7 separate regions of the Homo sapiens genome follow, and regions 2, 3, 4, 5, 6 and 7 are each linked to region 1. Evidence: promoter capture Hi-C in human tissues and cell types (Jung and others, 2019). All regions are on one chromosome and are shown on one strand. The core of a region is centred on a gene start or on the middle of the fragment in contact, and the rest is flanking DNA. Distances in the headings are between cores, read along the strand shown. Region 1 holds the start of MGAT3 (beta-1,4-mannosyl-glycoprotein 4-beta-N-acetylglucosaminyltransferase). Region 2 holds the start of ADSL (adenylosuccinate lyase). Region 3 overlaps TNRC6B (trinucleotide repeat containing adaptor 6B). Region 4 overlaps TNRC6B (trinucleotide repeat containing adaptor 6B). Region 5 has its middle 3.0 kb from the start of TNRC6B. Region 6 has its middle 11 kb from the start of TNRC6B-DT. Region 7 has its middle 4.6 kb from the start of CBX6.

What was found. Contacts are between HindIII fragments. The study calls those that stand out against the background at their distance.
Region 2: the fragment with the promoter of ADSL here is called in contact with the fragment with the promoter of MGAT3 in region 1 in 5 of the 25 tissues and cell types used here (IMR-90 fibroblasts, dorsolateral prefrontal cortex, lymphoblastoid cells and 2 more).
Region 3: a contact is called between a fragment that was not itself captured here and the fragment with the promoter of MGAT3 in region 1, in 3 of the 25 tissues and cell types used here (dorsolateral prefrontal cortex, lymphoblastoid cells and mesenchymal stem cells).
Region 4: a fragment that was not itself captured here is called in contact with the fragment with the promoter of MGAT3 in region 1 in 1 of the 25 tissues and cell types used here (lymphoblastoid cells).
Region 5: a contact is called between a fragment that was not itself captured here and the fragment with the promoter of MGAT3 in region 1, in 1 of the 25 tissues and cell types used here (dorsolateral prefrontal cortex).
Region 6: a fragment that was not itself captured here is called in contact with the fragment with the promoter of MGAT3 in region 1 in 4 of the 25 tissues and cell types used here (dorsolateral prefrontal cortex, liver, lymphoblastoid cells and 1 more).
Region 7: a contact is called between a fragment that was not itself captured here and the fragment with the promoter of MGAT3 in region 1, in 1 of the 25 tissues and cell types used here (spleen).

The regions. Positions count from the first base shown.
Region 1 is chr22:39,455,385-39,458,686 of GRCh38, reverse strand. MGAT3 (beta-1,4-mannosyl-glycoprotein 4-beta-N-acetylglucosaminyltransferase) reads right to left here and starts at 1,675. Exons shown (of 2, transcript NM_002409.5): 1 at 1,130-1,675. RefSeq lists an enhancer at 30-229 and silencers at 550-679, 690-959, 1,690-1,749. The HindIII fragment of the contact is 12,980 bases long and covers 1-3,302 here.
Region 2 is chr22:40,344,871-40,348,172 of GRCh38, reverse strand. It overlaps ADSL (adenylosuccinate lyase), which reads right to left and starts at 1,673. Exons shown (of 13, transcript NM_000026.4): 1 at 1,462-1,673. The coding sequence starts at 1,614. RefSeq lists enhancers at 618-1,130, 1,131-1,644, 1,645-2,158 and a silencer at 1,331-1,420. The HindIII fragment of the contact is 18,864 bases long and covers 1-3,302 here.
Region 3 is chr22:40,309,375-40,312,676 of GRCh38, reverse strand. TNRC6B (trinucleotide repeat containing adaptor 6B) reads right to left here. Exons shown (of 23, transcript NM_001162501.2): 17 at 1,684-1,860; 18 at 26-172. Among named protein-coding and RNA genes, the nearest start is that of ADSL, 35 kb to the left of the region's middle. The HindIII fragment of the contact is 7,129 bases long and covers 1-3,302 here.
Region 4 is chr22:40,195,598-40,198,899 of GRCh38, reverse strand. The region is part of intron 1 of TNRC6B (trinucleotide repeat containing adaptor 6B); the gene reads right to left. Among named protein-coding and RNA genes, the nearest start is that of TNRC6B, 19 kb to the right of the region's middle. RefSeq lists enhancers at 2,551-3,083, 3,084-3,302. The HindIII fragment of the contact is 3,393 bases long and covers 1-3,302 here.
Region 5 is chr22:40,173,296-40,176,597 of GRCh38, reverse strand. It overlaps a transcript of TNRC6B not described here. Among named protein-coding and RNA genes, the nearest start is that of TNRC6B, 3.0 kb to the left of the region's middle. The HindIII fragment of the contact is 5,621 bases long and covers 1-3,302 here.
Region 6 is chr22:40,054,177-40,057,478 of GRCh38, reverse strand. It overlaps a transcript of TNRC6B not described here. Among named protein-coding and RNA genes, the nearest start is that of TNRC6B-DT, 11 kb to the right of the region's middle. The HindIII fragment of the contact is 4,520 bases long and covers 1-3,302 here.
Region 7 is chr22:38,875,177-38,878,478 of GRCh38, reverse strand. No RefSeq gene overlaps it. Among named protein-coding and RNA genes, the nearest start is that of CBX6, 4.6 kb to the right of the region's middle. The HindIII fragment of the contact is 3,463 bases long and covers 1-3,208 here.

The DNA of each region.
Region 1 (3,302 bases), core at 426-2,925:
ATCTCTTCCAGTAACCTCTCTCTTCCTCCTGGGCTGGGACCCCTCTTTCAAACCTTCCTAGGACCCAGAGCGGCTCCCCTTAGCACTCCTTAGACTGAAAACCCCCTCAGAGCTGCAGCTCCTGGGGGTGGGGGCTCTCCCCTCCATCCTTCTGCTGGGCTCCATGTCTGGATCTTTCATAACTGCTCCCCCTCCCCAAACGACACGCCAGTGCTCACAACTCCCCCATCAAGGCGAATCTGGACTGGTGTGTCCCAGGAATGAAGTGGGGAACCAGGGAGGAATCCCACTGGGGTAGTGTGTCTGCCCACACCCCATCAGGGGCCTTCAGGGGCATCTTCCGGGGCTGGGGGTCATCCGACCTCAGACCACTAGGTCTGGCCGCGCGGCATCCCTTCCTGCTGCACCCCAGCTCAGGAACCCCACCATACACACACCCAGGCGCACTCCCCTCCCCACTCCCGGTTCCAGAACTCACTATTTGCAGATATTTATAGCGCCCTCCCTCAGCCAGGTTCCCTCCCCCGCCCTGGGCAGAGCAATGCAAGGAGCCGGGGGCCCCCACCCCGGTAAATGGCCGGGGGCCCTCTCCACATTTGCCTCTGCCTGGTCCCCAGGGGTAGCTACGGCCGCAGCCCCCGCACCCGCCCAGCCCCCGACTGCGCTTGGGCCTCGGCTGCCGCCGCCGCAGTCTGGGGTCGGGGGTGGGGAAGGCGGGCGCGGAGGCCTCCCACCCCAGCCCCGCGCCGCGCCGGAGGTTGTGGGGGAGCCGCGCCGGAGGCTGGGGGGTGCCGCGCACAAAGCACGGCTCGAGCCCCGCGCCTCGGGGACGTCCCCCGCCCGGCCGTGGGAGGGGGTCGGGCGCTGAGGCTCTGCCCTCCGGGGACCGGGGAGCTCGGAGGAGCGGCGGGTAGGGGGAGGGGGCCCGCGCCGAGCGGCTTCCCCGGCATCCCGCCCCCACCGCGGCCTCCGGGCCCCCAGCCCCAGTGCGCCCGCGCCCGCCCCCTAAGGTCACGCTCGGGGAGTGGGCCGCGGAGCCGGGCGGGGGGCGCCAAGCGCAGCGCGGGAGGGCGGGCAGCGCGGGGATAGAGGGGCCGCGGCGCCCCCCAGGACGCCGGGGTCAACTCACCCATCGCCCGCTGGGTCTCAGCAACGGCGGCAGCAGCGGCGGCGGCGGCTCCGCGGCCCCCGGGGTCCCCGGCGGGGAGATGCTGGCGTCCGCCGCAGCCTCTCGCCCCATCCCGGGCTCCGGCGGCAGCGGCTGCGGCGGGCGCCCGGCATCGCAGGCAGCGCGGCCCCGGCCCGGCCCCGATCCCCTCCCCCCACCCCCACTTCCACCCCGTCCCGGGGACCCGGCGCGGCCGCTCGGCTGCACCCCGGGGCGGCGGCGGGGGCCCGGCGAGCGGACGGGCGCGGGGGAGGGACCGCGGCGGGCGCGCGGGGGGCGCGGAGGCGAGGCCGAGCGCGGCGCGCAGGGGTGCCCGCTCCCGCCGGCTCAAGCGGCTCCGGCCCCCACCCCGCCCCCTCCGCAACCCCCTCCCCTCCCCCGCCAGCCGGGCTCCGCCGCCGCGCCGGGCCGGGGGCGCCTCGCACCGCAGACTCCGGCCGCCGCCGCCCCGCGCCGCCCGCGCGTGCTGGATCGAGTGTGTGCGTGTGCGAGCGAGTGTGTGTGAGTGCGAGTGTGCGCGCGCCCCTCCTGTGACCGTGCGTGCGCCGGCCCACGGCCCGGGGCGGCCTGCGCGGGGGCGTGTGCGGGGAATGCGGGTAGTTCGGAGTGCGGGCCTGGTGTGCGTGCGGGGCAGCAAGTCCCGTTCTGTGTATGCGTGGACGGGTGCGTTCCGCAGCGTGCCCGGGTCGGTGTGACTCCGTGTGCCCGAGTCTGTGCCTGTGTGTGCATGGACGTGCAGATCCGTGTTGCGGTGTGTGCGTGGATGCGCCTGTGCCCGCGTGAACCTGGGCCGGGATTTCGCATAGGCATCTGTGACCATGTGCAGAGGCCTGGGCCTGTGATGTGTGCACGGTGCCGGGCCTGTTACGGTGTCTGCAGAGTCTGTGTGTCTGCTTGGGGCGTGGGTGACCGCTGTACACCGGCCTGTGTCCTTCCGTCCGACCCCCTCCGTCCCTCACATGCCCGAAGCCACCTGCGCACTCCTGGGGTAACTGGGGGGGCCTCCCCTCCCCCGCCCCCCTCACCCGGCCACCCTAGGCCCGGTCGGCCCTGCCAACCCTCTTGAGCCTACTCTCCTGCCACTTGCCCACCAGCGGTTCTCCGAGGGCCCACCGTGTCGTGCCCTGGCTCCTCGTGGCCTTGCTCTAGGCCATTCCTCTCAGGGCTCAGAGGCGTCCCCCACGTGTTTCCCGCCTTTCAAGTGGTTCCGTTCTGGGGCCTACAGAGCAGCCACTTCCTCCCGCGGTGCGAGGCACAAGGCATTGTGGGTACGCAGCAGACATCTCTGCGCCGCCATCGTCGAAGGTGCAGGGATGCGCTACCTATTCTATATCCCAGCGAATGTGCTCCAGAATAGTCCCAGAGGCCTTTGCTGAACCATCCGGGCTGCCTAGGGCTGGTCTACCTGCTCCAGGTGCCTCCGTGCCCAGCTTCATCCATCCTTGCTGAGGAGGCAGAGTGATCCTACTCCAACATTCACTTGAGCAGGTCACTCTCCTGCCTGCACCTTCAATGGCTCCCACTTGCCCTCAGCTTAAGTTCAGTGCCTGGGCGGGGCACAGGGAGCCCCTGGTGACCTAGTCTTGCCCCCTTCTTCAACGTCACCCTCACTGCTCTTTTCTTCCTGGAGGCTCTCTCTAAGCAAGGGTGGGCAAACCATTTGCTTTAAGAGATTGATTGTAAATCTTTTAGGCTTTGCCAGCCATATGGTCTCTGTCCCAACTACTCAACTCTGCCATCGTAGCATAAAATCAACCATAGACAATACGTAAAAGAATGAGCCTGGCGGTGTTCCAATAAAACTTTATGGACACAAAAATTTGAATTTCGTGTCATTTTCACGTGTCCAGAAACATTTTTTGATGTTTTCCCAACCATTTGAAAGTGTAAGATCCATTCCTAGTTCCTATCACTCTAAGCACATTCCATTATAACATCTCCATGGGCCGGGCATGGTGGCTCATGCCTGTAATCCCAGCACTTTGGGAGGTTGAGGCAGGTGGATCAGAAGGTCAGGAGTTCAAGACCAGCCTGACAACATGATGAAACCCCATCTCTACTAAAAATACAAAAATTAGCCGGGTGTGGTGGCACACGCCTGTAATCCCAGCTACTCGGGAGGCTGAGGCAGGAG
Region 2 (3,302 bases), core at 424-2,923, 890 kb before region 1:
AATTTTCTGCATTCCTCCTAATCTCTTATTCTCCAAGTTTTTTCTTAGCTACTAAGTTATTATGCAATTTATGGTAATTTTGACACCCTAACAGATAATCCAAAGCCAAAATTGTATGCATTTTAGGCCAACACAAAGAACACATACTCAGACTCTACATTCCAATTCCAGCTTGAAGCCATTTACTAGCTTTGGCGACCCTGGCAAAGTCTTGAGTACCACTACCCTCATCTACAGAATAGAATATCAGATGAAATAGAAAGAGTACACACTAGTACATCACAAACCACAACACATGATTAAGGTCTACTACTATCGCTATCTACGCCAAGAGTTTATTAAGTTGATGCTTCATTCTTCCATCTGTAAAACAGGTACAGTCATAGTATTTCATACCTACTCTTCAGGGTTGTTTGGAGGATTAATAAGCAACCATGTGTAAAGGGTTAAGACCTGGGTCTCAGAAGGCACTATCTGAATGTCTGCTATTATTGTAGTGTATCGCCCAATATTTTGGAGGGCAGTGATAAGGGGAGGGAGGGAATCTAGAATGAAAGTTTCCTGTTTGGAGAGTTCCATGGTACAGGTCCTAGGCCCGAAGTCAAATTGTTTCCATGTTTACTGTGCCGTTTGAGAGGGCATTGCCAACTTGCTCGTTGTGGCACTTTCCTCTGAAACTTGAGGAGAAACATTATCGCTCTCTGGATCACCTTCAGTTTGCTTCAACTCTTCTGGAGCTATTTCTGAAACCGCTGGGCTAAGAAGTTCTCTATGCAGCCCTTAGAAAAGAAATTATAAACCCCGTTTAATAAACCCCTACCCGGAGTCTTCTCCTAAGAGGCAAAGCGGAGGCCAGTGAGGCAGAAACGGTGGCCTAGAAAACAAGCATTCCAGTCCTGTCACTAACTACACAGGCACTGTGGAAAACCAAGGGGCTACGTGCTCAGCTCAGGCTCTGGAGTGCACCCAGGTTCAAATCCCAGTTCCGTTCTTAATAGCTGGATGGGCTAGGGCAAACAACAAGCTGTCCGGGCTTTGTTCTCCCCTGCAATGTGGGAAAAACACCATCAAGCCTGCAAGATCTTCATGGATTACACAAGAAAAGATTAGTGAAATAATGAGCACAACAGTACGAAACAAGCGCTCGGTGTCTGTGGTTAGCAGCGTACTCCTGCGGGGATGGCCAAAATGAATTCCCTGAAACTACAGGCTGAATTTCTCCCAGCCTCCTCCGCGTCTCGAACCCTCTCGGACTGAGAACACGTGAGGCAACAGGTGGCGGCTCCCGGATCTCCTGCCCTTGCTTTCCTGGGGCCGCAGCTCCTCAGGACAGGGAACACCCAGCTGAAAATAGCCGGGCCGCAGCTCCGGGGTGGCTAAGCCCAGCCCGGAACAGAGCCCGGCACGTGCTGGGGCGGGCCCGTCCCTCCCGGCCCAGCCCCTCAGCCCGGGATCCGTTACCTGCTCGGCCTCCGCCAGCCACAGCCACAGCTGCCGCCATGTCCGGAATTTATACCTGTCGCTAAACACGAAGCACATCTCCGGGCTGGCATAGCGGGAGGCAAGAGGTGAGCGGTAGCTGTCGGGCGAACCATGATCGCCTCCAGCCGCCATCCCAACCCTGCGACCCCGCCAGGGTGGACTGGACCAGGGAAGAGCGGAAGCGGAAACCTGGAGGCCAGGGCAGGACGGGGCGGGGCGGGACTTCCTTCACGCGGTCTCGCTCTCTGGGTTCCGGGCGCCCTGGGCGCTGCCGGCTGCGGAGAATCTCCGCTGCTTCTGCCTGAGAATTGACTTGGTTCGCTTCTTTGACCAGAAACATGATTGATGCTTCCTACGTTACTTAGCCGCGCTACACTTTAGTTTTCCTGTCTGAAAAGAGGTACATTAAGACTTCCTTGGCCGGGCGCGGTGGCTCACGCTTGTAATCCCAGCACTGTGGGGGCCCCAGACCGGAGGATCGCTTGAGGCCGACAGATCGAGACCAGCCTGGGCAACACAGGGAGACCCTCCCGTCTCTAAAAAACAAAAAGCAAAAAAAAAAAAAAAAAAAAAGGCCTGCCTTTCGGGTTGTGCGGATTCAGTGTTAGAGCGGTGTCTGGCACACTTGGAAGGCCGTGTGTACGCTTGCTGTTACTCTTATTACTGTCGCCCCACCCACTCCTGCCCGCGGCGCACCGAGCTCGGCTCTAAGGAGAAATGAAGATACCCAAGGGAAATCGGCATTTACTGCGCCCCCAGTGAGCCGGCTGCGGTGGCCTACGCCTGTAATCCCAGCACTTCGGGAGGTCGAGGCAGGCAGATTTCCTGAGCTTAGGAGTTTGAGACCAGCCTGGGCAACACGTGAAACCCTGTCTCTACTAAAATACAAAAAATTAGTCGGGCATGGCGGCCTGTACCTGTAGTCTCAGCTACTTGTGAGGCTGAGACAGGAGAATTTCTTGAACCCGGAAGGCGGAGGTTGCAGTGAGCCAAGATCGCGCCACTGCACTCCAGCCTGGGCGACAGAGCGAGACTCCGTCTCCAAAAAATAAAAGAATTAAATAAATAAATAGAAATAGAAACACTCAAGTGGCCCCCCCCCTTTTTTTTTTTTTTGACAGGGTCTTGCTATGTTGTTCAGTCTGGAGTGCCAGTGGGGTGATCACACAGGAAAGGGTTCATCTGGAGCTGTAAGAGCCAGGTGTCTCAGCTGGGCACGGTGACTCACGCCTATAATCTCAGCACTTTGGAGGCTGAGCTGGGCAGATCGCTTGAGTCCAGGAGTTGGAGACCAGCCTGAGCAACATGATGAAACACTGTCTCTACAAAAAATACAAAAATTAACTGGGTATGGTGGTGTGCACCTGTAGTCCCAGCTACTTGGGAGGCTGAGGTGGGAGAATCACTTGAGCCCAGGATGTTGAGGCTGCAGTAAGCCATGATTTTGCCACTACAGCTTAGGCAACAGTGAGACCCTGTCTCAAAAACAAAACAAACGAAAAGAGCCGGGTGCCTGCACCCTCTCCACCTGCACTTAACTCCTAGCTCTCTGCCTTTTACGTGAGGAATCTAAAGACACTCAAGCCAGGTGTGGTGGCTCACGCCTGTAATCCCAACACTTTGAGAGGCCGAGGCGGGAAGATCGCTTGAGCCCAGTACTATGCTGCTTTGAAATTACTTGTTTCTGAGTGCCTTACTAAAATGAGACCTGTGGAGGAATTCCAATTTTAACTCCCAGTTTATTTGCTGAGAGTTAACTTCACTTTTCCAATAACCATAATATTTCTAGACTATTACAAGTACATGATTAAGGGCCAGGC
Region 3 (3,302 bases), core at 369-2,868, 850 kb before region 1:
TATAAGAGATGCTTTGCTCAAGTACCTGTGGTGTTATCCCGCAGCAGTTGGTGGTCAGTATCTACAATGGGAGATGTGGCTGTACCCCCCAGCACACTTCCTGGGGTGACATAGGGGTCAGATTCAGGGTCAATGTTTTGGATACCTTTCCATGGCACTCCTGGTTGGAATTCTGAGACAAGGAAAACAAATATTAGAGAAGGAAGGTCGTTAAAAAAAAATGATATAGTACTTTTTTTGACATAAGAAATGGGTCTGTGAAAAGTATAAATACTGAATTTATTGTCTCTTAGATTTTCATCACAAAATTAAGGAAAAAAAAATCACCATGAACATACTCTTGCCAACAGCACCTTTGTTTTATCACACTGTCTGTGGCAGTCAACTGGAAGCCACAGCTCATCAGAGCCTGTCCCCAGTAACCTGATCCTCCTGCTCCCAGGAGACTTCAGGGCTGAAGGCAGGGAAAGCAGGAGTAAGGACTCTGGTGTTCACAAGAATCATCCCAGCATCTAGGCCAAGAACCGGTGAAAATATGGGCTAGAGATCAGTGCTCTTTCTCATTTTCCTTACGAGATGTTGGCCAAAATGCAAAAAATGTAATACAAATGATACTGCTACACAGAATGTCCAGGGATAACCAGCAGGGATAATTTAGCTTAGCAAAAGAAAGCCTAGAATATACATAAGGGCTCGGAATTTTTTTATTGGTCAATTTAAATCATTTTAAAATTTTAAGGCTATGTGACACAATAAACTTTTATTTTCCAAATCGTGATGAGAAAGAGCAATGTGTATTATATATGAACGATCTGCATTATACAGTTCTACTTTGGCCGGGCGTGGTGGCTCACGCCTGTAATCCCGGCACTTTGGGAGGCCGAGGCGGGCAGATCACCTGAGGTCAGGAGTTTGAGAACAGCCTGTCCAACATGGCGAAACCCTGTCTCTACTAAACATACAAAAAATTAGCCAGGCGTGGTAGCAGGCGCCTGTAATCCCAGGTACTTGGGAGGCTGAGGCAGGAGAATCGCTTGAACCTGGGAGGCAGAGCTTGCAGTGAACCAAGATCGCACCACTGCACTCCAGCCTGGGTAATAAGAGCAAAACTCCCTTTCAAAAAAAAAAAAAAATTCTACCTTAATAAAACGAAACTATACATATTCATGTCACAAATACGCATGCACAGAAAGAGGTCTAGGAGGATATATATTTATGGAATTACTGATTTTAATTTTTGCTTTATTAAATGTTCTCATTTTTCTATCATGAGAATAGATTACTATATCCAACAAAAGGGAGGGACAGAAAGAAAAGAATTAACAAATAATCTCATTGCAATCGCTACTGCATACCTAGAAGCTAACTGGTAATACACACTTGCCTAAGAACTAACAAATCAATTCAACAGACACTTCAAAAGAACCCATGTTACAAGGCATCCTATGCATGGGACGAATGCAAAGTCCCACCTACAATGTCACTTATCCCCAGATTCCCCATCTAATGAAAATTTTCTATCTTCCCACAGCACATGCCTTGCTTCTAACAGACAATTATTGAATGAAAAAAATAAAAGCAAGTACCTTAGTAACATGAATCACAAAAGCAATGTATTCTGAACCTGAAACTGACAATTACAAAACAAATGCTATCCTGGGAAAAGCATTTCCTAGACAATACCTGGAGGCCAACTGGCATTGCTGGATTTACTTCCGATTTTATTTGTTGGTGGAGATTTGGCAGGTAACCAGCTATCACCAGCAGGACCCGTATGGCCACCCAGTGTGTCACCAGGGATGATATCAAACTGGTTGTACGGTGACCCTCCCCGGGTTTTACCAGGGGCCACTATAGCGCCTGAGAAAAGAGAGGAAATTAAATCATCCAGAATAACTCCTATGAATAGAACTTGTCTATTTTTTATTCGCTGGAATGCAAACAGTCTTCTGAAGCTGATGGAGTATATACAAACAGCACTGGAATAAGAGGTTGCATTCGAGACTCAGCACAGAATTACTAAGCAGCATGACCAACAACAAGTCATTTCGCCTCTCTGAGCCTCTCAGTTCCTCACTTAGGCACACAGGATTGTTCTCATGCTTGAATGTTCCTTTCAGTTTTAAAATTCCATGGTCTTATGAAATTAATGAAACGTTCACATACTAGGAATCTGACCATTATCCCTAGTTTCTATGCTAACGACTCAAGAGTGAGAAATGGGGAAAATTCTAACCATTTGTAGCACATAAGAAGGTTTTAACTAAATTTCTACTGATGCTATCCACCCAGGTTCTTAAGGGCTGGCTGATCAGGCTTAGATTAGCTGGAAGCAGCAGTGTAAACAGAGAGTCCATTGGAGGGAAAAGCATCTGCAATTGCTTTAAATTCCAACGCAATGAGATGGAATTCCCGCCTAGGGTCTTTGCCAGCACAAGACCAGCAATGAACTCTGCAGCTCTGGGATCCGTGGCCTCACACATGAAGAACAGCAAATCCTTTGTAACTGGTTTCCTGAGAGCACTTCAGTGGTTTTGTCGCTGCCCCCATCATGCATTTTATATGCTATGGGGCAGGAAAATAATTAAAAGCTTAAAATTACCTTGAACTAACAGAACATGCACTTTGAATAAAATTTTAGGTATCAGTGAGATACCAGTCTACTTATTTCTCAAATGAATTTTACATACTATATTGGGTCACTTGATCTATTCTTAGGATGCTGCTTGTGAAGGGATAAAATTATTTCCAGGGTGATGCAGCCTAATGGGAATATTATCAAAACTACCTCCATACTCAGGCTAAGAGGGCATTTACTTTTCTGGAGCCACTGACAAATCTGGCTCAGAGGCACATTATGGTGAAGCAGTGGAAAATGACAAGCTCAATTACTTTGGGGATTGCTAAGGAAATGGGAAAACATGATCTATAAGCTCTAAAAAGGCAAGTAGAGATTTTGCCTTTGAGATATCCTCTCACATGCCATTTCAGATTTATTATCATGCACCTATCATGTCTTTGGGGACAAGGGGACCTGGTGAATCATCAGCCTAAGGAAGCATTGAAAGTGCCCAAAGCTGTAGATATCAGTGGGCTTAGATTATTCAGTCCACAAACAGATTTTACAATTTCAATAAATCATTTTTGACTTCATGCCATGAAACCAAATGATAATGCTTAGGGATGGCAGGCAGAGAGCTCCACGTGGGCATTTCACCAGCCTCCTGGATGGGCTTATTAAAGAGTGGTTTATAAAGGAAACCTGAAAGGCTTCAGACTGAATGACCTGGCTGGGGCTGGGG
Region 4 (3,302 bases), core at 392-2,891, 740 kb before region 1:
TCACTGCTATTGGAATACTGCTGTTCCCAGGCACCCTCCCCCTCTACTACCAACAGAACTAGGAAACAGATGTGCGTATGTATGTGCACACACATATGCATATAAATACACATGCATGCATGCCTTTTGCAAAGATTTTATTGCTATTTTTATCGGTCCTTATTAAAATCCAGGCATTCACACCAATACTTCTGATTCCGATCTAGCATCACAGGGTTAATTCTAGCTGTCTCCTTTCCAATATCTGTAATGTTCTTCAACAGTGAGAGCTGCTGGGGGCCATTATCCTGAACATACTTATTTCATCAATCCTCCTATATTCAACCAATCAATACAGGAAGGGCATCCCAGAAGCAATGGATGCCCTTCTCACCTCTCCTGGGCTCTGACACAGCACACCAGACCCTCCCTCCTCATCCTACTCAGGCTCTGATACCCCTGGCCAGGCCAACACCTTGCTGAGCCCACTTAATAGCCTCTAGGACTGAACTGTTCAGGAAGGAAAAGAGAGAGAAAAGAAGAATGCTTTTAAAATTAAAAAGAATTAATGTAAAAATGTATTTTTTAAAGAATATCTGTTAAGTTAGAACTTGTAATAATTCAGACGGCCAAACTAAAATTCAACTTTGCATCATCTATGAAGAACAGGTTTGCTAAGTAAATTAATAGTGTAAACAAGCTTGTAACCCAGATATTTAACCTACTTAAGAAAACTAATTGTTTTCAAGCACTTTAAAATCACTGGGCATGTACTTGCCTTTAATTATTGTCTAATTACAAATGACTTCTATTTTCTTCGTTATAGCTTTGATAAGCCTTCTGATTATGCTTTAAGAATTACAACTTAAACTCAATACAGTTTAGATCCTTTAAAAATGTCTTTATTAATCAATTGGTTTTTCAATTAATCACCTGAAGTAAACTTTTTAACCATTCAGTGATTTTTCTTTTTTAGTTAATCTGTCATGTTGCTTAAAAAGAAAAAATGGGCCAGGCATGGTGGCTCATGTTTGTAATCCCAGCGCTTTGGGAGGCTGAGGTGGGAGAATCACTTGAGCCCAGGAGTTCAAGACCAGCCTGAGCAGCACAGGGAGACCCTGTCTCTGTTAAAAGAAGTTTTTTTTAATTAGCCAGGCACGGTGGCTCATGCCTGTAGTCCCAATTACTTGCGTGGCTGAGACAGGAGGATCTCAGCTTGAGCCCAGAAGGTCGAGGCTGCACTGAACTATGAATCGCACCACTGCACTCCAACCTGGGCAACAGAACAAGACTTGTCTCAAAAAAAAAAAAAAAGAAAAAGAAAAACGCCTTTCGGCTGGGTGCGGTGGCTCATGCTTGTAATCTCAGCACTTTGGGAGGCCGAGGGGGGTAGATCATGAGGTCAGGAGTTTGAGAACAGCCTGGCCAACATAGTGAAACCCCGTCTCTACTAAAAATACAAAAAATCAGCCTGGGTGTGGTAGCAGGCACCTGTAATCCCAGCTACTTGGGAGGCTGAAAAGCAGGAGAATCGCTTGAACCCGGGAGGTGGAGGTTGCAGTGAGCTGAGATCAAGCCATGTGCTGCGCTCCAGCGAGGGGCAACAGTGTGAGACTCTGTCTCAAAAAAAAACAAGAAAAACACCTTTCAGCAGCCAGCCAGGGATGCTCCCAAAGACCTCCTATTCTGCACACGATCAGCACAGTCTCATTCTCCTGTTGTTTATCATGAATGCAGTGCTGAGGACACCATAAAGCCAGCAAGCTGTTCCCGTCATCTGCATCCATATTTTAAGACACTCCACTTTATAATACAGGGATTCAACCAATCAATTAGCAAATCACTCTGCACTGTGTTTAAGGCAGCTTGGGAAGAGAAGAAAATTTTGGTGGAGTTACAGCACCCAGTTCCTCCACCTCCTCATGTGTACATGGCTGCAGCCTGGTCACTGAGCTGTCAGCACTCCTTTTTTCTTATGAAGATAAAACCATCCTCCACATCAGGTTGTTGGGAGGACTAAATGAGGTAATGGAAGTGTGTGCAGCATAATAGGCACTTAATGAATCAGTTCATGTCCCTTCCCCCCGACCAGAGCCTTATGGAAAAACTCAGCATGACTCAGAGCAATGTTTTAAAATTTGGTTACACAGAACCTCAGAGAGAAGCTACTGCAGAGTACAGGTCATAACTGCGAGCCTGAACCACATCTGCCCTATCACTGCCCCGACCCAAACAAAGGGAAACCAGAAAAAAACATCAGCAAGAGTTCCAGAAAAAAACATCAGCAAGAGTTCCATAATCTAAAAATGAGCAACCAACTCATCCCTGCCTCAGGAGAATAGAAATATTCTAGGAGAAAGAAATGAACAAATAAGCTGTTTTTTCTACCCTGACTTCCAAATAAAGGTGCCAACAAGTCCTAGAGACTCCAACGAGGCCCAGTTTTAGGGTCCTGGACCACTGAGGCACTCATTTATTCAGTGGTGGGTTATCTGGTTTTTACCTCTAGATCTATTAAGTACCAGTAACTATTAGGATTTAACATGTGATAGAAGAAGATCACATTATTAAAAATCCATTAGAAAGCCCCACCTCTACAAAAAAATTAGCCAGGCATGGTGGTGGAGCCTGTAGCCCCAGCTACTCTGGTAGCTGAGATGGAAGGACTGCTTGAGCCCGGTAGGTTGAGGCTGAGATTGTGACATTGCACTCCAACAGACTGAGACCCTGTCTCAAAAAAAGAAAAAAATCCATTAGAGGTAAGCAATTTTTAAAATCAAAGGTGTTAACAATATGATGCACTATGGGCCAACCTAGCAGTGTATTAAAAAGAAAAAAAAAAAAGGCTGGACGCGGTGGCTCACACCTGTAATCCCAGGACTTTGGGAGGCTGAGGCAGACGGATCACGAGGTCAGGAGATTGAGACCATACTGGCTAACACGGTGAAACCCCGTCTACTAAAAATACAAACAAACAAAAAAAATTAGCTGGGCGTGGTGGCGGGCGCCTGTAGTCCCAGCTGCTGGGGAGGCTGAGGCAGGAGAATGGTGTGAACCTGGGAGGTGGAGCTTGCAGTGAGCTGATATTGCGCCACTGCACTCCAGCCTGGGCGACAGAGCGAGACTCCGTCTCAAAAAACAAAACAAAACAAAACAAAACAAAATAAAGCTGAGGATGGTGGCTCATGCCTATAATCCCAGCACCTTGGGAGGCAAAGGCAGGAGGATTGCCTGAGGTCAGCAGTTTGAGACCAGCCTGGGCAACATATCAAGGCCCCGTCTCTACAGAAAAATTTAGCCAGGTGTGGTGGTGTGCACCTGTA
Region 5 (3,302 bases), core at 383-2,882, 720 kb before region 1:
AATGACTTGGACCCTATTCAGAAGGGCTGGGCTGAGTAGGAGGAAATCTGCCACCTGAATATAAAAAATGTAGGGGAATGAGGGTCACATAGTTCCCAGAAACTCGCATTCATCTATGTTTTAAGGACGGCTTCAGGAAAGAAAGTAACTAAAATGGTAAAAAGCGCATGAGGCCGGGTGCGGTGGCTCATACCTGTAATCCCAGCACTTTGGGAGGCCGAGGCAGGCAGATCACCTGAGGTCGGGAGTTCGAGACCAGCCTGACCAGCATGGAGAAACCCCGTCTCTACTAAAAATACAAAATTAGCCAGCGTGGTGGCACATGCCTGTAATCCCAGCTACTAGGGAGGCTGAGCTTAGCAGGAGAATCGCTTGAACCCGGGAGGCGGAGGTTGTGGTGAGCCGAGATCGCGCCATTGCACTCCAGACTGGGCAGCAAGAGTGAAACTCCATCTCAAAAAAAAAAAAAAAAAAAGTGCATGAGAATGCCCTGTGACTATCGACTCCACCTATCTCTATAAGCCAGAAAAGGGAGGATTCCCTAGTGTGCTTCTCCCATAAACTAGGCTGCCATGCCAGCCAGCAGACAACTGATGGATTCTAGAAACCCGGCTTTCCTTGAAAAGGAACCTACGAATGCTTGTAAAATCCCACAACACTTGTTGTCATCCTGGCTTCTGGGTCTTTATACAGTCTCCCGCCTTTGCTCTTTCCACTCAGATATGACGACAGGAAAGGAGCTGTTTCATGGCAGGCAAAGGCCAATGCCTGGACAATCTGGTAGCCTGAATAGCTGTGGCTTAACAAGCTTCCACTGTCTTTGCCTAGCACTGAGTGAAATAGCCAGGCCCTGCACTGACAATTGAGATGCAGGAAAAAGCAGGAAACTACTAGAATGGAAATTCTGATTATTTAGTCTATTTTTATCCTTCCAATACCTTCCAGATGAGTTACTGAAAGCCTACTTGCTTGTAGCTGGCTCGATTTGTAAAAATGTGTGGAGACTGAACATCCACCTTGTTTTAATTTGTGATGGACATGCTTTCTTTATGAAACTGAACTTTGCTAAGTCTCCATTCCCCAGTGTAGAATATTATTGTATACAAATATTTATATGTGTTGCCTTGTAAGTGTTAAATAGCAAACTGCATGAAAAGTTTGGAAACAGAACAAACATATTTTAAATAAAATATTGGTTCTAATTTCAAATAATATGCTGAAAACATATATATATATATTTTGAGACAGAGTCTTGCTCTGTCACCCAGGCTGGAGTGCAGTGGCATGGTATCGGCTCACAGGAACCTCCACCTCCTGGGTTCAAGCGATTCTCCTGTCTCAGCCTCCTGAGTAGCTGGGATTACAGACACATGCCACCATGCCCAGATAATTTTTGTATTTTTAATAGAGACAGGGTTTCACCATGTTGGCCAGGCTGGTCTCGAACTCCTGACCTCGTGATCTGCCCACGTCAGCCTCCCAAAGTGCTGAGATTACAGGCATGAGGCACTGCGCCCGGCCACTGAATATTTTTTCCTTAACCTCCACATCATCTTTTCTATGCAATACCTCTAAATTTAATACAATTAGTCTAATCGTTTATCTAAAACAAACAAGTGCAATAAATACATTATTTCTCCCTTGTGTTTCCAGACATAATAGATTCTGTGATAGATTTATTATACTTTTTTCATATTAACAATTAGACAATATTTTAAAATTATATTATTGTAAGGTAAGGACACAAAGAAATAAATTTTTTTTTTTTTTTTTGAGATGGAGTCTCGCTTTGTCGCCCAGGCTAGAGTGCAGTGGTGCTATCTCGGCTTACTGCAAGCTCCGCCTCCCGGGTTCACGCCATTCTCCTGCCTCAGCCTCCCGAATAGCTGGGACTATAGGTGCCTGCCACCACGCTCGGCTAATTTTTTTGTATTTGTAGTAGAGACGGGGTTTCACTAAATCACCTCGTGATCACCTCGTGATCTGCCGGCCTCAGCCATAAAAATTATTTTCTAAAACTAAAAACAAGAACATTCAAATGACTGTTATCTTTCAAAGCTGGCACCTTTGGAGGTTACATACCATTCCTCAAAATATTTTTATCAGAAAACATGATTGGCCAGGCATGGTGGCTTATACCTGTAATCCCAGCACTTTGGGACGCCGAGGTGGGTGGATCACTTGAGGCCAGGAGTTCGAGACCAGCTTGGCCAACATGGCAAAATCCCGTTTCTACTAAAAATAACAAAAATTAGCTGGGCATGGTGGCACACGCCTGTAGTCCCAACTACTCAGCAGGCTGAGGCTCAAGAATCACTTGAAGCCAGAAGGTGGAGGCTGCAGGTTGCAGTGAGCTGCAGTGAGCAAGGTCGTGCCACTACCCTCCAGCTGGGGCAATAGAGCAAAACTCTGTCTCTAAAAAAAAAAAGAAAAAGAAAAAGAAGAAAACAAGATTGAAAAATAACTGAACTGAGTATTTAACTCAAAAATCTAGAAAAAGGCTGGGCGTGGTGGCTCACGCCTGTAATCACAGCACTCTGGGAGACTGAGCCAGGCAGATCACCTGAGGTCAGGAGTTCAAGACCAGCCTGGCCAACATGGTGAAAACCCAACTCAAAATACAAAATTTAGCTGGGCATGGTGGTACCTGCTGGTAATCCCAGCTACTTGGGAGGCTAAGGCAGGACAATTACTTGAACCTGGGAGATGGTGGTTGCAGTGAGCTAAGATCATGCCACTGCACCCCAGCCTGGACAACAGAATGAGATTCTGTCTCAAAAAAAAAAAAAAAAAAAAAAAAAAAATATATATATATATATATATGTTCAAAAATCTAGAAAAAGAGTTAATAAACCCCAAAAATGAATAAATATAAAAGCAAGGCTGGCCATGGTGTTGACTCATGCCTGTAATCCCAGCACTTTGGGAGGCCAAAGTTAGAGGTTTACTTGAGCCCAAGAGTTTGAGACTGGGCAACAAACATAGTGAGATCTCGCCTCTACAAAAAAATAAAAAAAGTCAGCCAGGCTTGGTGGGGTATGCCTGTGGTCCTAGCTACTCCGGAGGCTGAGCTGAGATCACGCCACTGTACTCCAGCCTTGGTGACAGATTATATATATATCTGTTTTGTTGTTTTTGGCACAGATATAAAGTAACAGCCAAAAAAAAAAAAAAAGAGTAAACTGAATTAATAAAAACAAAAACTAGGCCAGGCGTGATGGCTCACACCTGTAATTCCAGTACTTTGGGAGGCCGAGGGTGGATCACGAGGTCAAGTGATCAAGACCATCCTGGTCAACATG
Region 6 (3,302 bases), core at 263-2,762, 600 kb before region 1:
TCTACTAAAAATACAAAATTAGCCGGGCGTGGTGGCACACGCCTGTGATCCCAGCTACTCGGGAGGCTGAGGCAGGAGAATCACTTGAACCCAGGAGGCGGAGGTTGCGACGAGCCGAGATGGTGCCATTGTACTCCAGCCTGGGCAACAAGAGCGAAACTCTGTCTCAAAAAAAAAAAAAAAAAACCTGGCATATTTTCAATGTACACATTTAATAAATCAACACCTTTAGGAAAAAAATTCAATGTAACTGTACTATTCACAAGAGGATTAATAAACATGTTCCCTTGTCATAAACCACAGATAGTGTTACCTGGTAAGAAGTTTAAAGGTATAATCAGTATCATCTTTCAATCCTGTGACTTTATCTCGACTGTTTACACCTACTATGTGCAAACCATTCTAGTGGGTGCCATGACAAAACAAAGTAGCATAAACTCATTTTGAGCTCAAGGTATCCAAGATGAGAACCCATGACGACTTCTTACTCTGTTGAGATACTACAAGGAACTTCCAATGAATATAGTCTACCTGTGCCCATGGGAGGAATCTGGTGGCCTTGCCCCATCAAATCTGCTACCATCTCTATTCAAGCAACTTCCATTTTTCTTTCTCCGCTGGGTGCTTCCTGTATATCTTTTAATAGATTATAGATTTTTCTTTCTTTTTTTTTTTTTTTTTGAGACAGGGTGTCACTCTGTCTCTCAGGCTGGAGTGTAGTGATGCAATCCTAGCTCACCGCAGCCTCCAACTCCTGGGCTCATGCAATCCTCCTGCCTCAGCCTTTTGAGTAGCTAGGACTACAGGCATGTGCCATCATGCTCAGTTGATGTTTAAAACATTTTTTGTAGAGATGGGGGTCTCACTATGTTGCTCAAGCTGGTCTCGAACTCCTGGCCTCAAGTGATCCTCTTACTCTGGCTTCCCAAAGTGCTGGGATTACAGGCATGAGCCACTGCACCCAGCCTGATTTTCTATCTTACTTAAAGGTGTTGCCTTCTCAACCTCGTCCTGCTTCCATTTTTCTCTGTCCTTTCTCTTCCAAACATCTTAAACTAAACTGCATTCATTACTACCATTCTCCCTATCATCACTTAGCTCCTTAGCCCTTTGTTATGTAGATCAAATACATACACAGAACTTGCAGAAATCGGCATTACCGTAAGTCAATTAACATCTTGTGAGTGTAATCAGCACTACCAGAGCATAATCACTTCTTCCCATTTGAAAAATATCAAGCTCTGAATATGCAAAGCTGAGAAACATTAGTTTAGCCAACAAGGTATGGACATCCTGCAACTGAAAGCAACTTAGCGGAAATAGAATGGAAGATGGCTAGAGATGGGGTGGATGGGGAAAGGAGACACTACTTAAGAGTAACAGGGAGAGAAAAATGGATAGGAGGAGACAGAAAAGGAAAGAGACATTGAAAACAAATAGGAGTAAATGAAGGAAAATGGGCTACATTTTTATCCAATTAATCTCCCTTTTTCAAATCTGGTTGAGAATTAAATTAGATTAATGTTAGCTCAGTGAACCACTTGGAGACTTGGAGATATGTAAAGACCTTCAAGCTGTAGGAACTGTCTTTCCCAGAACATATACCAGAGGCCCTTCTGGGTAGTCCTCTTTTCTGATTTCCTCTCTTTCACTGGTTCAGTGTCTGATCCATTTGAGATGGTATCAGCACTCACCTCAGGTGATCTAGAAGTCACTTCCTTTACACTCTCTGCTCCTACAGATAAGCTTAAATGAGTCACCACTTTCTAATTCCACCTAACATCATTTGCATGGTTATAGGTACACCACTGAAGCAAGTATATTAACTAGAAGTGACAAGTGCCGTTGTGGTTTATGATTATCTTCTCTGAATGGTACTCTATGCCTTTATGAATTCAAACATACAGATTCAGATCATTATTCTAAGGTCATTTCCTGTCCTAAACTGCAGTGGAGTAAGAGGCTGAGTCTGACATATCATGGTTCAACTGTAAGTCAGCTATTAGCCCTGTACCCTAATGCCAGCCTTGTAAAGCATACCGCTGTGCCGGTCATCTTCTCCACATACTAAAAACGCTCCCCCATGCCTCTACACAGGCTGTTCTCTCTGCCGGAAATGCCCTTTTCCTCCACAACTTAGTGTGAGTGTCACCTTCCCTGGGAAGGCTTTCTCAACCTCCCCATCGTGTTGATGACCTTCCTTTTCATCCCCGCAGCACCTCTTGTACTGTCTATTACAGCACTTATTACACTAAATGGCACTCATCTGTGTCCACATCTGTCTCACCCACCTGGCTGTGCATTCCTTGGGAACAAAGATCTCCTTTCGCCCCACCTCTGTAGTCCTGGCTCCTAGCACAGCATTCAGCATGTCTATGCATTCAAATGTTTAGTGAGAGCGTCATCATGTCAAGCCCAAGCATAATTTCTTTTCTTTTTTTGGAGACGGAGTCTTGTTCTGTCACCCAGGCTGGAGCTTAATGGTGCAATCTCAGCTCACTGCAACCTCTGCCTCCCGGGCTCAAGCAACCTTCCTGTATCAGCCTCCCGAGTAGCTGGGACTACTGGCGCGCACTACTACAACCAGCTAATTTTTTTTTTTTTTGTAGAGATGGGTTTCACCATGTCACCCAGGCTGGTCTCGAACTCCTGGACTCAAGTGACCTGCCTGCCTTGGCCTCCCAAAGTGCTGGCATTACATGCATGAGCCACCAAGCTTTGCCTAAAATGAGGTTTTTTAGAAATTCTATTTTAAATTCTCTTTCTTAACTTCATTTGAAAAAATATTTATTGAGGACCTACTATGTGCAACTCACAGTGCTAGATGTTGGTGACACAAATGTGAATAAAACAGAGTATTTTTATTCATGTAGCTATTTTCCAGAAGGGGAAATATAATATACAAATTAAATAATTATACAATTGATATCTTCTAATGTGGGGCGGGGTGATTAGGAAGTCATTAAAGAGGAGACACACACACTGAGCTCAGGATTGAAGAGGCATTAACTAAGGTTGGGCCTGCGGGCTTCCAGCTGTGAGAATAGTATGCTCAAGGAAGGGACCTTGGGTAGTGAAGAACACACATTTCCGGAACTTGAAGAGGGTCAGTATGGTGAGAGTACACTCAGCAAGGGGGAAGACAGTAGGAAAAGAGGCAGGGGACGCTGGCAGAAGCTTCACTGGGCAGTCAGTGAAAAAGGCAAGAACAAGAATTCAGGTTCTTATCAGGGTCTTTAGGCCTCACTGACAGTTTTGTTTTTGAGACAGGGTCTCACTCTGTCACCCACACTGGAGTGTGG
Region 7 (3,302 bases), core at 228-2,727, 580 kb after region 1:
AGGCATGGAGTCTCTTTCCCTGTTCCTGAATCTGGACTGGCCTGATATATTAGTTTGCTATGCTCTATCACTGATTGCTTAAAGCAATACCCCTTTATCATTTCAGTTTCTGTGGGTCAGAAGTCCAGGCACAGCTTAACTGAAGTCTCTGCTCAGGGTCTCACAGGCTGCAATCCAGGTGTCAGCTGGCGCCACATCCCCATCTGAAAACTCAGAGTTCTCCTCCAAGCTCAGTGGCTAGTCACAGAATTCAGATCCTTGTGATTGTAGGACTGAGGTCCTCAGCTCCTGGAAACCACCCACCACCGTTCCTGCCACATGGCCCTCTCCACAACATGGCATCTTGCCTCTTCAAGGTCAACAGGAGCGCAATTCCACTGCTTCCAACCTTTCCTCTTGGGAGAGGCTTGGATTGTCTTTCAAAGAGCTCGCCTGATTAGGTCAGACCAAGATAAACTCCCTTTTGAATAAGTCAAAGTCAACTTAAAGGACCTTAATTATGTCTACAAAACCTTGTTTGTTTGTTTTTGAGACAGAGTGTTGCTCTGTTGCCCAGGCTGGAGTGCAGTGGCACAATCTTGGCTCACTGCAACCTCCGTCTCCCAGGTTCAAGTGATTCTCCTGCCTCAGCTTCCCCAGTAGCTGGGATTACAGGTGTCCACTACCACGCCCAGTTAATTTTTGTATTTTTAGTAGAGATGGGGTTTCATCATATCGGCCAGGCTGGTCTCAAACTCCCGACCTCAGGTGATCTACCCACCTCGGCCTCCCAAAGTGCTGGAATTACAGGCAGGAACCACCACACCCGGCCTGTTTTTTCAATATAACCTAATCATGGGAGCAAAATCCCAACACGTTCCTTAGGTCCCTCTCATGCTCAAAGGGAGGGGATTATACAGGACATGTACACTGGGTTGGGGGAGGCAGGAACCTTAGTGGCCTTGAAATCTGCTCACCATACCTTGTGACTTGCTTTGACCAACAGAATGCAGAGGGAGCAATGTTGTGTAAGTTCCAAGGCAAGACCTTAAGAAGCTTTGTGTGTCTCTCACCTTCTTGTGTGACTCCTGGAACCACATAAGCAAGCTTGAAGTAGACTATGAATGATGAGAGACCACGAGGAGAGAGAGGCCCAGCCAGCATCCAGTACTATGACTCCAGATGTACACATCAAGCCTTGGCCTTGTCTCTGACCGTGGCCACACCAGTTACCCTATACAAGAGCAGGAAAGAGAACCATCCAAAGTGCCCGTCAAACACAGAATCATGAGAGATAATAGATTCTTGTGTTTTAAGCTACTAAATTTTTGTTTGCTGTACTACAGGTTTTTTTGGTGAAAGGAAGGTAAGTCTCAGGACCCCCAAATCACTAAGCCAAAAAGAAAGTTGTTGGCCGGGTGCGGTGGCTCACATCTGTAATCCCAGCACTTTGGGAGGCCGAGGCGGGCAGATCACGAGGTCAGAAGATCGAGACCATCCTGGCTAACACAGTGAAACCCCGTCTCTACTAAAAATACAAAAAATTAGCCGAGTGTGGTGGTGGGCACCTGTAGTCCCAGCTACTCGGGAGGCTGAGGCAGGAGAATGGCATGAACCCAGGAGACAGAGCTTGCAGTGAGCCGAGATCGCGCCACTGCACTCCAGCCGGGGCGACAGAGCGAGACTCCATTTCAAAAAAAGAAAAGAAAAAAAAAAGAAAGACAGTTGTTGCCTTTTTTGGGGTTGAAATTTGAACCCAAAAAATCACTAAGTCAAGCTGGGGACTGCATCAGGCAAACTTGGCTCCCATTTTTTCCCCAAATAAGATAGTTACAAAGATTAAAAAACTACATATCTCCTTCAGAGTTTGCCCCCAAGGAATTTCCATGTGGGCCTCAGCATCTTTACCCTAAAACAGTTCTGTTGAATTTCACCTTGGCAATGTAAATTGATAGTTTATCTTAACAGATGCGGGACAAGGACAGAACTCAAAGTCATCCCTCTTCCCACCCGAGACAAATGCATATCTGATTGCTTCCTCCGCCTGTTGCTTATGTAAAAATGCAGATTCACTGAGACAGACTGAGGCATAAGTGACTCTTCCTCTACCCTCCTCACATGTAAATTGTGTACTCAGTGAAAGGCTGATCAGAATCAAAATAATACAACCTTTTGTCTCTTATCTACCTACCACCTGGAAGCCCCCACTTCGAGTTGCCCCACCTTTCCAGACTGAACCAATGTACATCTTAAATGTACTGATTGATGTCTCATATCTCCCTAAAATGTATAAAACCAAGCTATACCCCTATCACTTTGGGTACAAGTCATCAGGACCTCCTGAGGCTATGTCACGGGCACGTCCTTAACCTTGGCAAAATAAACTTTCTACATTGATTGAGACTTGTCTCAGATAGTTTTGGTTCACAATTTCATAGGAAACTGATTTGCCCTCTGTCTGGGCAACAACTCACACAGGCTAAGAGATCAATTTTTTTCCTTTGTGATGTTACACCAAACCTCAGAACTATAGACTGTCAGAGGTGGAGGGGATTTTTTTCTCATAGAATAGAGACTATCTTCTCCAGGTGCTCATAAACAAGGGAAAAGCATGTGAGAAGTCCATAAATCTCTCCAAAATTTTGGAATGACTTGGAAATAACAGATTTTCAAAAGAGTCACCTGCAGCTTGTCGCAGTGGCTCACGCCTGTAATCCCAGCACTTTGAGAGGCCAAGGCGGGCGGATCACGAGGTCAGGAGTTTGAGACCAGCCTGGCCAACATAGTGAAACCCCGTCTCTACTAAAAATACAAAAATTAGCCTGGCAAGGTGGCGCGCCTATAGTCCCAGCTACTCAGGAGGCCAAGGCAGGAGAATCACTTGAACCTGGGAGGCGGAGGTTGTAGTGAGCCAAGATCACGCCACTGCACTCCAGCCTGGGCAACAAAGGGAGACTCCACCTCAAAAAAAAAAAAAAAAAAAGTCACCTGCCAAAAAATATAGAGCATGAAAAAGGGCCAGTTCCTCCCCCATTTTTGAAGTTGAAAAACTAAGATCCAGAGAGTAGAAAAGGACTTGTACAACATCACACGATTACCAAAAGAAAAGGGATCCAAGCCTGGCTGCCCGAATTCCCACTTCATCTCATCACATCCCTCCTCTACTCAAAACTCCCTCACGCTTCCCACTGCCTGAGACAAAGTCCAAACCTACCCAGCATTCAAGGCCCTTCCCAAGTTCAGTCCAACCCATCTTTCCATTGCCATCCTTTGCCGTACTGCCCCAACCCATGCCATAGCAGACTTCTTTCCCATCCCCAAAA